Linked DNA regions of Homo sapiens: regions 2 and 3 are each linked to region 1. The links are contacts of gene promoters, found by promoter capture Hi-C in blood cells and fetal thymus (Javierre and others, 2016). All regions are on one chromosome and are shown on one strand. Each heading gives the region's core, a stretch centred on a gene start or on the middle of the fragment in contact. The rest is flanking DNA. Distances are from core to core; before and after follow the strand shown.

Region 1 (3,101 bases), core at 187-2,686:
TGCCTTTGGGGGCAGTTAGAGCAGAGAGGAAGAGATTTCCCTGAGTTTGGGGACAGTTCAGAGGTCACTAGGTACCTGGGAGAAGAAGAGTCTGGAGACAGCAGGCCAGGACCCCAGAGCGTACAGGACTGGAGAGCTATTGCTGACTGCACAGGCCCACAGAAAGCTTGGACAACGAGCAGGCCAACAACCACCACGATGGACCAGCAGTTAGAGGCCTTCCCTTGGTTTCATCCCTCCTAAGTTTCTTAGTCAATTTGTGTGGCTATACTAGAATACCTGAGACTGGGTAATTTATAAAGAACAGAAATTTATTTTCTTACAGTTCTGGAGACTGGGAAGTCCAAGACCGGGGCTCCAGCAGGTCCGGTGTCTGGTGAGAGCTGTTGTCTTCCAAGATGGCGCCTTGTCACTGCATCTTCCAGAGGAGACGAAGGCCATGTCCCCACATAGTGGAAGGCAGAAGGGCAAAAAGGGATAAACTCCCTTTGTCAAGCCCTTTTATAAGGGCAGCTACTCCCATTCACAGGGGAGGAGCCCTCGTGGCCCAACCACCTCTTGGAGACCCCATCTCTTAATACTACCACACTGGCAACACCTGAATTTTGGGGACACATTTAAACCATAGCAATAAGCCCCCGGGTTCTGGTGGGACGCTGGAAAAAGGCAGGAGCCCCAGGAATGAACTCAACTCTACTTGATTTTAGTGAAATAGAGAAATGGATATTTTTGTGCACCTAAGTTTATAGAGTAAGAGTCACACCTACTGCACCACTACGATTATTATTATTAGCGTTGCTGTTGTTGCTGTTTCCCGGGCTGTGACACTAGGCCTCAGTGCATTTGAGTGCTGTCTGATATGAGCAAAGTGCTCAGGACAGCTGCAGTTCCTTCCCCCAGGAAAGACTCCTAGCCCTTCAGTTCCCAGGTTCTTCCTGGGTTCTGCCCCATCTGGCAACAGTGCTGCTACCAGGCCGGGAATGACAATATAGGGACAGTTCTCTGTAGTTGAGGGTCTGGTTGGAGGTCCCTGGTAGGAGTCTGTCTGGACCCAGCACAGGGGATGCCCACCAGGCCAGCCCTAGCCTTCAAGGGTGGGCCAGACTTTTGAGGTCTGTTGGGGAAGCCAGGGCCCAGGGAAACTTCTAGCTGCTCTCTCCATCTTCAGGCTTGTCACCTCCTCTCTATCCCCTCCCAGTGCCCTCCACCCAACCTGGCTAGATTCTCCAAGTTCCCTGGCTGAGGAGCAGGAAGGAGTGGGGAGTTTCCATAATGTCTCTGTAGAGCTCCAGGGTGAGGCTTGGCAACTGGAAATTGTCAGTCGTCTCCTTGGCGACCAGCAGCCAAATAATTCTGGGAATGGAGGAGGGAAGGGAGCTCTCAGCAGGGCGGCCAAGAGAGGCAGCCCTCACTTCCCAGAAAACTTCAATTCCTCATTACCTGTGTCAGCTGGGGTTCAATCAGGAGACAGAAACCACACCAGTTAGTTTGAAAAGAGAATTCAGCATAAGGAACTGATAATGAGGTATGAAGTTGTTAATTAGGTAAGGAGAGGGTAAGGAGAGAGAAGAGTAAGCTTTCATGGGGGTTGCACCTGCAGGAGCAGCTACCACTCCAGGGCTGGAGAACCCTAAGGAAGAGTTTTGAAGGAGGGTTCCAGAGCCTGTGACCCAGACATCTGAGGAGGGGGCTCAACTCAGCGGGAGCTGGGGTCTCCGGGTGTGAAGAAAGGACTCCTGCACCCAGACCTCTGCGGAAGGGGCACCTGCCAGCTGGTGCTGGGGTCTCTCAGGTAGGGATGCAGGGCTGGGGTGGGGTGGATGATGGAGCTGCAAGTGTTGGGAACACTGCAAACTGGATCAGGTGCTGCTCCAGGAGGGGCCTGCTGTTCCTGGGGTGAAGATGTGTTGCTGGGGTGCCCTCACAGGGAACACACAGATGCAAACAGGAAGGAGCCTGTCCACACTTCCTGTCCCGCCTGCAGCCTCCCTCTAGTGACTGGCAAAACAGAAATGGAGTTGGTAGGGTCCAAGCCCAACATCGCAAAACTGGCTGCAGAAGATACAGGTCCAGAGCTGAGAAATAAGAACCTTGTTACCCCATTGCTGGAAGTTCTGGTCTTCCAGCTTTGTCGTTAGTGGTAAGAGCAATGCTGAATGCGTAGTGGGTGCTCACCTAATGTTGTTGTCTGGCCACTGCCTCAGCTGATTCCTGAAAAGGCACATGGACAGGTAAGGGACAGGCCCATCCCTCCCCTTCTTGGCTTTATTCTGGCCTGTTTTGAAGTTACTGACATTCACAGGCTCTGATAGCTGGAAGGAATTTTTTAATGGTAATGATGAAAACAACAGCAGCAAAGAAATATTACAAGTGGCCTAAGGAAAACTATAAAGTTACTGGGATCAAATCGTACATTAAAAGTACAGGACAAGATAAATAGCCCCATAGGGCAGAAATAGAACAAAGTTCAGAAATTTATCCCCGTGCGTATGGATTATAGGGTACAATAAAGGTGGTATTTCAAACCAGTGGATTCAAACTATGGTTTCTTTAATAAATTGTATAGGCACAGTTGACTCTATGTCTGAATGAAAAAAAAAGGTTACGACCTCTACCTCATTAAGTTATTAAAACAAAATTTCAGATCCGAAAGATTTAAATATAACATTTAAAACAGTTTCATGAGGAAAAATATTAGAATATATGATCTAGAGTTTGAAGAGATTTTTCTAAATAAAGTAGAAAATTCAGAAGCTACAGATGAAAAGAGAGACATAAGAAGCTTAAATTTTAGAAAGATAAAATATACCGCTGGGATCATGAGGTCAGGAGTTTGAGACCAGCCTGGCCAACATAGTGAAACCCCATCTCTACTAAAAATACAAAAATTAGCCAGGCATGGTGCCACGTGCCTGTAGTCACGGCTACTCAGGAGGCTGAGGCAGGAGAATTGCTTGAACCCAGGAGGTGGATGTTGCAGTGAGCCAAGATTTCGCCACTGCACTCCAGCCTGGCCAACAGAGCGAGACTTCGTCTCACAAAAAAAAAAAAAAAAAAAAAAAAAAAAAAGATACCGCTGAGTGCAGTGGCTCACACCTGTA
Region 2 (3,500 bases), core at 852-3,351, 260 kb before region 1:
ATTTTATGTATATGTTACTACAATTCAAATAATGTGCAAATCAATACTACTTATGTAGTAAAATTACTAAAAAGTTGGGGTAATGGTAGACGGCAAGTTCATGATAATGGTTATCTATGGTGGAAAGAGGGAATTGTGGTGGGGAGAGGTACTTAGAGTATTTACGGCGTTTACTTCCTAAACTGGCTGGTGCTACATAACTTATAGTTTGCTATATTATTCGTTATACTTTATTATAGTTGGGACTTGGCCAGTTTACTGCACTTTGATGTAACACGATTTGAAGCAGATGCCAATACTGGTATTGTTTCTGTAGCTCCTCACGAGTTTTCTCTCTTTCTCTCTCTCTCTCTTTTAAGGAATAAAACATCAGCTTCGAGTTCACTTGTCTTTTGGATTGGATTGTCCAATCCTTGGTGATCACAAGTACTCAGACTGGAATAGGTTGGCCCCCCAGGTAATACTAATTTGACCCAATGTGCAGCAGATACGGGAGAGAACTTAGGCGTTCCTTTTCTTAAAACTCTGAAATGAGTTACAACAAAGCCTACTGATTGTCTTCAGACATGATACCAAGCTCATTATCTTGATTTTAGAGAAATTTAGGAGCAGTTGGTTACTGTCCTTGTGGAACTGCAGGATCTGTTAGTGAAAAGCTTACTGTTACATTTGTTTATTCAGATTTTGTTGGGAGGCTGTGGACAAGGGGAGGGGTGTTTCTGAAGGCTGGGAGCAGCTTTTCATGGTGCTACTAAAAAACCGCAGGGAAAGCCTTTTCATCCTTATACCACAGCCCATTCTCTTGTTAGGCCAAAAAGCACTGGCCAAAAAGAATGTCTTGGTGTGGTCATTTTTCCCTTACCTGAGTTCTGAGCCGTTCTTAGACATGCCACTGAAGCAGACTCTCCATTACTGTGTCTTCCAGGGGGTTAGTTTTGGTTCCCTGTAAGTAGAAGTGCCCTGACCTTGCATGTTCGTCAAGGGTGGACTGTTGGCCTTGCTCTCAAGGGTCTGTCCTTTCTTTGTATAGAAGCTGTCTGTGGGCACCCTGAAGAAGCTGGGGCTAGAACAGTCGAAGGCCCGCTACATCCCCCTTCACCTGCACGCCCGGCAGCTGATCCTGCCTGCCCTGGGGTCCGGGAAGGAGGAACTCAACTTGGTCTGCAAACTTCCTCGCTTCTTTGTGCATTCCCTGCACCGCCTGCGTTTAGAGATGCCAAATGAGGATCAAAATGAGAACAATGAAGCCAAGTGTCTGGGAGCACAGTGAAGACCATGGGAGCACCCTGGCACCTGGGAGCACAGTGAAGACCCTGAGAGCATCCTGGCACCTGGGAGCGCAGGTTGGCCCCTGAACTGTTCTTTGTTTACAGGACTCTGCTAACTTCTCACTTGGAACAGACTGCGTAAGAGCCAGGTGGGATAAGGTAAAGCAACTCAGCTGCTACAGGGCTTTTAATGGAGAACAAAGTCTATTTACTGATAGTTTGGCTGCACTGTGGAAAAGCCTGCTGGAAGTCTCCCTGCCGTGGGCTCTCATTGCCAATATGGAACAGAGCCCAGGGCCAGGCAGACTGGGGCAGTGACTGGAAAAGGAAAACTAAAGGTCAGAATCCGGGATCAGGAACTGTTTTTATCCAGCAGTGAAGCTCTTGAGCTCTTAGGAAGGTTCCCGTGGTTGGAAAGAACATAATGGTTAACAAATATCACAGCATCCAGGGATTGCCCAGCTATAGTGTGGGTGCCCTACTGAACTCTGATTAGGGAACCTGTATAAGGGTATTGAGTGTGAGGTTGAGGTGGGACATTTGCTGAGCAAGGAGAACCGATGTGAATGGCAGGCAGATAACATGCACACATGAAGCTGGCTGGGTGTAAGGCAGTAGCGGGGAGCGGCATGCTGTCTAACAGCTGTTAGCTCCAGCTGGTTGTTGCCATGTGGGAATGGATTTTCTCATTTCTTCAGAGAAGCTGGAAACCTAGATATTTATGTGAAACCTCCCAGTGTATTGCCAACTAAATCAAATTTTTAAAGATGCTTAGGCACCTAAGCAAATAATACTTAGAGGTTGAATTTGGTCTACAGGCTAGCAGTTTGCAGTCTATGTTTAATGAATGGTATAGAAGTTTGGGGAAAGGTGCCATCTTGAAAATTCTGGATCAGTGGTTGGCATTTTCGCTGCGTGTAGTATGTATCCTTTCTAGGCTTGGAGATGGCTTTGGTTGGTCCGTGAATGTAGTTATGAGAGTGCTGCCATTAAAAAATCAAAAATCTCTGTTGTGGAAGCGTATCTTCTGTTCTTAGGTCTCAGGAAGGAGAGGGCTATACTGAACACCATTAGGGATAGATGGAAATGACCTTGGCCTCCCTGCTCAGCTGGTCCATCTAGTTTCCACCTTGTTTCTTGCAAACAAATACACCTCACACTACTTTTTCTTTCTGACAGAGTTGGAGTGACAGCACAGTTAGGGGGGTACACCCCGGGACAGTCTTTATATGTTCCCTCTGTATAGATGATGCCACTTTCTAGCCCTTTCCCTGTCTCCATGGTACCCATTACTGTGCATAATAAATTTAACTTTGAAAGCACAGACGAGATGACTATATTTGTTTATATAAGACCTAAATATTTTTGCTGTTATTTCTGTTTCTAGTAAACCATGCTAGTCAAGAAAAAGGAACAAGAATGTGACACTTAGGAAATAGTGATAATTGACATTAATTCAGGGAAACAGATGAACAGGAATACCCACAAGAATGGAGAAGAGGCTGGGCGCGGTGGCTCACACCTATAATCCCAGCACTCTGAGAGGCCGAAAAGGCCGAGGCGGGCGGATCACCTCAGCCCAGGAATTCGAGACCAGCCTGGGCAACGTGGTGAAACCCTGTTGCTACAAAAAATACAAAAATTAGCTGGGTGTGTTGGCACACGCACACCTGTGGTCCCAGCTACTCAGGAGGCTGAGCTAGGAGGATCACCTGAGCCCAGGAGGTTGAGACTGTAGTGAGCCATGATTGTGCCACTGCACTCCAGCCTCGTGACAGAGTGAGACCCTGTCTCACAAAAAGGAGAACAATCTTAGAGGAACAGATGATGGAAATAAAAGAACTGGAAAATGTAGAAAAGTAGGAGCTAGTCAGGATACATTTTGGAGAAGTAACAGATGATTTATATTCTCATATATAAATATGGTCTCCTCCAAGATGTAAATCTAGTCTTTAATTTGGCAAACTGAATATTTACTAGGCTGAAGGTATCTGGGGATATTCACTCATCTCAGGGAGCTCTCTTTAGCTGGGAAAATTCAGTTAGCTGTGTGGTTTACTGACAAGTAAGTGTGAGGCGGGACTGTTGTTCCCCAGGCGGGCACGTTGGAGCTAGACTGAGAACCAGCTGTGTCGTTCTGTCTGCCCGGCTTTGTCACAAATGCTGCCCTACTGTTCTTCGTGATTCTTTAGCACTTCAGTGCTGGGTTTTGTGTTGGTTGCTGAACTGGGA
Region 3 (3,517 bases), core at 22-2,521, 280 kb before region 1:
AGTGTTGGGATTACAGGCATGGGCCACCAAGCCCAGCCAAGCATCAGTCTTAAAAAAAAAGTGGCCAGTGAAAACAATTGAGGGTATTAAAAAAAAAAGAGAGAGAGAGAAAACAGAAAGCAGGTTAGGGAGACTAAAAACATACTTTCATAAGGAAGTGAAGGAGGTCAGTGGAAGACCAAGGAGGACTCTCAGGGAGCAGCCAGAAAGCTGGGCAGCCTGGGCCCAAGGGAGGCAGGTGGAGACTTCATTCAGAAAAAGAGAGCACCTTTCCCCCAGATTTGAAAGTAACAGATCACTGCAGGAAATATGCAGAAAGAGCAAAATGAAGCCCCCCTTCCTCCAACGTGGAGCTAACCACTGCTGACATTCGGATTTATGTGGAGAAAAGCAGTTTTTAAGAGGAACTCTCGGAATAAGTCTGAGTATCTTGGGTTCATGTTCATATCAATTCTAAAAACTTCATTCATTAGAGTTTGCCCCTGCTTTCACACCATAAATCTCCATACATATAAGCCCCCCCTTTAAAAAAAATTCTTCCTTCAATGTCTTATTAAAATTAACTTAAAAAAAAAACTCAAGCAGCTCGAGCTGCTTTTTTTTTTTTTTTAAGTTAATTTTAATAAGTACAGTAGTGCATGTTTTCTGCAGTAGAAGAAAGAAAGAAGCAGTCTATTTCTAGTGGCTGGGGGTAGGGAGGTGCTGGGGAAGAGCAGGAACCTAGGAAGAGTCAGCAGAGGGTAGCCACGCCCCAGCCCCATGGACGAGACTCCTGAGGAATCCATAAAACTGCGAAGTACTAAGTTCTGGCAACAGATCTCAAACCTGCTCCTTAGCAAGAGAGCTAAAAAGAGAGTGTTTCTTATGTACTCTGTTAATTTGACTCTTAAGGCATATAAACAATAGGGAGACCCTGTCTCTACAAAAATAAAAAACTTAGCCAGATGTGGTGGCATATGCCTATGGTCCCAGCTACTTGGGAGGCTGAGGTGGGAGGATTGCTTGAACCCAGGAGGTCGAGGCTGCAGTGAGTCATGATCATGCCCACTCCAGTCTGGGCAACAGAGAGAGACTCTCAAAAAAAAAAAAAAAAAAAAAAAAAAAAAAAAAAAAAAAAGATAAACAAGAGCTGAAGGATAAGCTTCCAAAATAAACGAGGAAAACAAGAAATCTGTGCTTTTCCTTATGTGATATTCCTGTGCTGCATTCCATGACACTAAGAATATAAAACATGATAACTTCTGTCCTTACGTGTTTACTTCTTAATCTTTTTCAAAGTACGCTATTAAAATGGCAACAGAGGAGTTTTTCTTTTTTCAAGGTATAAAACCAAGAATGTGAGGTGCAGGAGATAAGCATTCAATTTTTCAATGAATTTTTGGAGATGGAAAGCAAGCTTTAAATGCAGATCTGAAAATACGGATTGGCATAAAGTCTATTTAACTAATGCGCAAATTCTCTTCCTCACCTCCTATTTTCATCTATTTTCTCCACCCCCAAATCCAGAGGTTTAAAGAAAAATGAACCGAAATCTGAAATGGGTCTGGAGTAAAATACATCAGCAGGAGCAATGAAGAACTGAAAATACAGATTATGTCAAAAGATGCATACTAAAAGGTTCTCCAAGCCTCCATCCTTGTCCCAGCAACCAATGCACTGTCAGCTAAAGAAATATTAGCAAACATATACATTTGTACAAACATACACACAAAATCCATATATACCAGCCACCCTATAGTAATGGCCACCACCCAACAAGACCCACGCTGGGAACTTAAAATAACAAAAAACAAAACAGAAATGAACAGTCAGAATCATGAGACATTCAAAGAAATCCCACAATAAAATAATTCATTTATTCCTTAAGTTATTAAGCATCTATTCATCGCCAGGCACTGTTTCAGAGGCTGGAATTATAGAGGTAAACAAAAAAAAACCCAAAATCCCTGCCCTCATAGAATGTTTATTTTAGTGGTGAGGGAAACAAGTAAATAAATATGTGGGATGCTAGATGGTGGGAAATGCTTCTGGAGAGAAACAAAGCAGGGAAGTGAGATGGGGGTCTGCACTTCTCAATCCAGTGCTCTCTTCACTGAGGTGACATTTAAGGAAAGACTTGTGGATTCATCCAAAGTGAGGTGTGGGAGCAAGTCGCTGGATATCTGAGGGAAGACACATCCAGACAGAGGCACAGGTGCAAAGGCCCACATCACCTGAAGGAAGTGGAGCCTGTGCAGAGAGGAAGAAAACTCAAATACTCCAGCGGGCCCTCTGAGCCCACCATATCCACATAACAAGAATGGATATTACAAAAAGGTATCAAAGAAAAATTAAAGATTGAGCAAAAAATCACAGAAATAGTACAAGAAAACATCCCGGAACTAGAGGACGTGAATTTCCAGAATCAAAACCGTCTGTGAGAAGCCAGCACAACAGCTGAGTAAAAGACCCATACCCTGGTGTTAATACACATCATAAAACTGCAGAACACCAGAGATAGAGAATATCCTCAAAGCTTCCAGAAGGGGAGAAAACAAACAAAATACGGTCACGTAAGAAGGATTTAAATCACCACATCTCTAGAGCAATTACAGATGCCTTCAACATTCTGAGAGAACCTTATTTCCAATCTAGAATTATATAACTGCCAAACTATCAAACAAGTGTGTGGGCAAAACCAGGTCATTCAAATACTTCTTAGAAATAACTGAAGTATATGCTTTTAAAAAATAAAGACATAAGCCCAGAAAGAGGAAGATACGGTTCCTGCACAGGAAAGGGCAGGTCCAGGAGGACCCCAGGCAGCAGTTCTTGAGAGCAACAGTAAAGGCAGGAGGAGGGGGCAGGGCTCCAATAAACAGGTGATACATTTGAGCTCACAGAAAATGTTACTGATAAGAATGTGACAAATACATTGGAGCATGTGGGAAAAAAATTAACAGTAGGTACATGAAAAACACAGGTGAAGGCCAACCTACACACCAGGAGGAACACACTGTAATAGATCATCCAGCTCAACAGTGAACAGTATTTGACAGAGGTGTAAGTACATAAAAGCTACCTGTTTTAGCAAAAAATTACAATAGAACTATATTAGGGGATAGAGGGCATGGAAAAATAGGAAAGTGGTGGGATGCAAGAGCTAAATACAAATCTATCACAACAAGAAATCAACAGGCCAAACATGAGGGGAAAACCAAGAAAGAATAACAAACCAACTATTTAGCAACAAGAAGATACAGCAGACTCTCAAAAAAAGTCTTTTTGTTCAACATCGTTTTTTCATAACATTGATGAGAGAATAAGTGATTCCTGGCTGAGGCTACCCGTTTGTGTGGAGTTGGCATGCTCCCCATGTCTGTGTGGGTTTTCTCCAGGTATTCTGCTTTCCTCCCACGTCTCAAAGATGTGCCTGCTAGGTTAGCTGGTGTGTCTAGATGGTCCCTGTGTTTGTGTGTGTGTGCATGCACACCCTATGGCATAGACAGCGTCCTGTCCAGGGCTGGCGCCTGCCTTG

Evidence for each region. The method cuts DNA at HindIII sites, captures the fragments that hold promoters and counts their contacts. A CHiCAGO score of 5 or more calls a contact.
Region 2: a fragment that was not itself captured here is called in contact with the fragment with the promoter of DDX25-AS1 in region 1 in 7 of 17 cell types (naive CD4 T cells, non-activated CD4 T cells, total CD4 T cells and 4 more); the score reaches 11.5 in naive CD4 T cells.
Region 3: a fragment that was not itself captured here is called in contact with the fragment with the promoter of DDX25-AS1 in region 1 in 1 of 17 cell types (naive CD4 T cells); the score reaches 5.4 in naive CD4 T cells.

What each region holds. Positions count from the first base shown.
Region 1 is chr11:125,937,377-125,940,477 of GRCh38, reverse strand. DDX25-AS1 (DDX25 antisense RNA 1) reads left to right here and starts at 1,436. Exons shown (of 4, transcript NR_199024.1): 1 at 1,436-1,792. The HindIII fragment of the contact is 1,410 bases long and covers 169-1,578 here.
Region 2 is chr11:126,201,188-126,204,687 of GRCh38, reverse strand. RPUSD4 (RNA pseudouridine synthase D4) reads left to right here. Exons shown (of 7, transcript NM_032795.3): 6 at 360-457; 7 at 1,031-2,592. The coding sequence ends at 1,270. Among named protein-coding and RNA genes, the nearest start is that of RPUSD4, 8.7 kb to the left of the region's middle. The HindIII fragment of the contact is 2,886 bases long and covers 659-3,500 here.
Region 3 is chr11:126,216,950-126,220,466 of GRCh38, reverse strand. All of the region lies in intron 1 of FAM118B (family with sequence similarity 118 member B), which reads right to left. Among named protein-coding and RNA genes, the nearest start is that of FAM118B, 6.9 kb to the right of the region's middle. The HindIII fragment of the contact is 255 bases long and covers 1,144-1,398 here.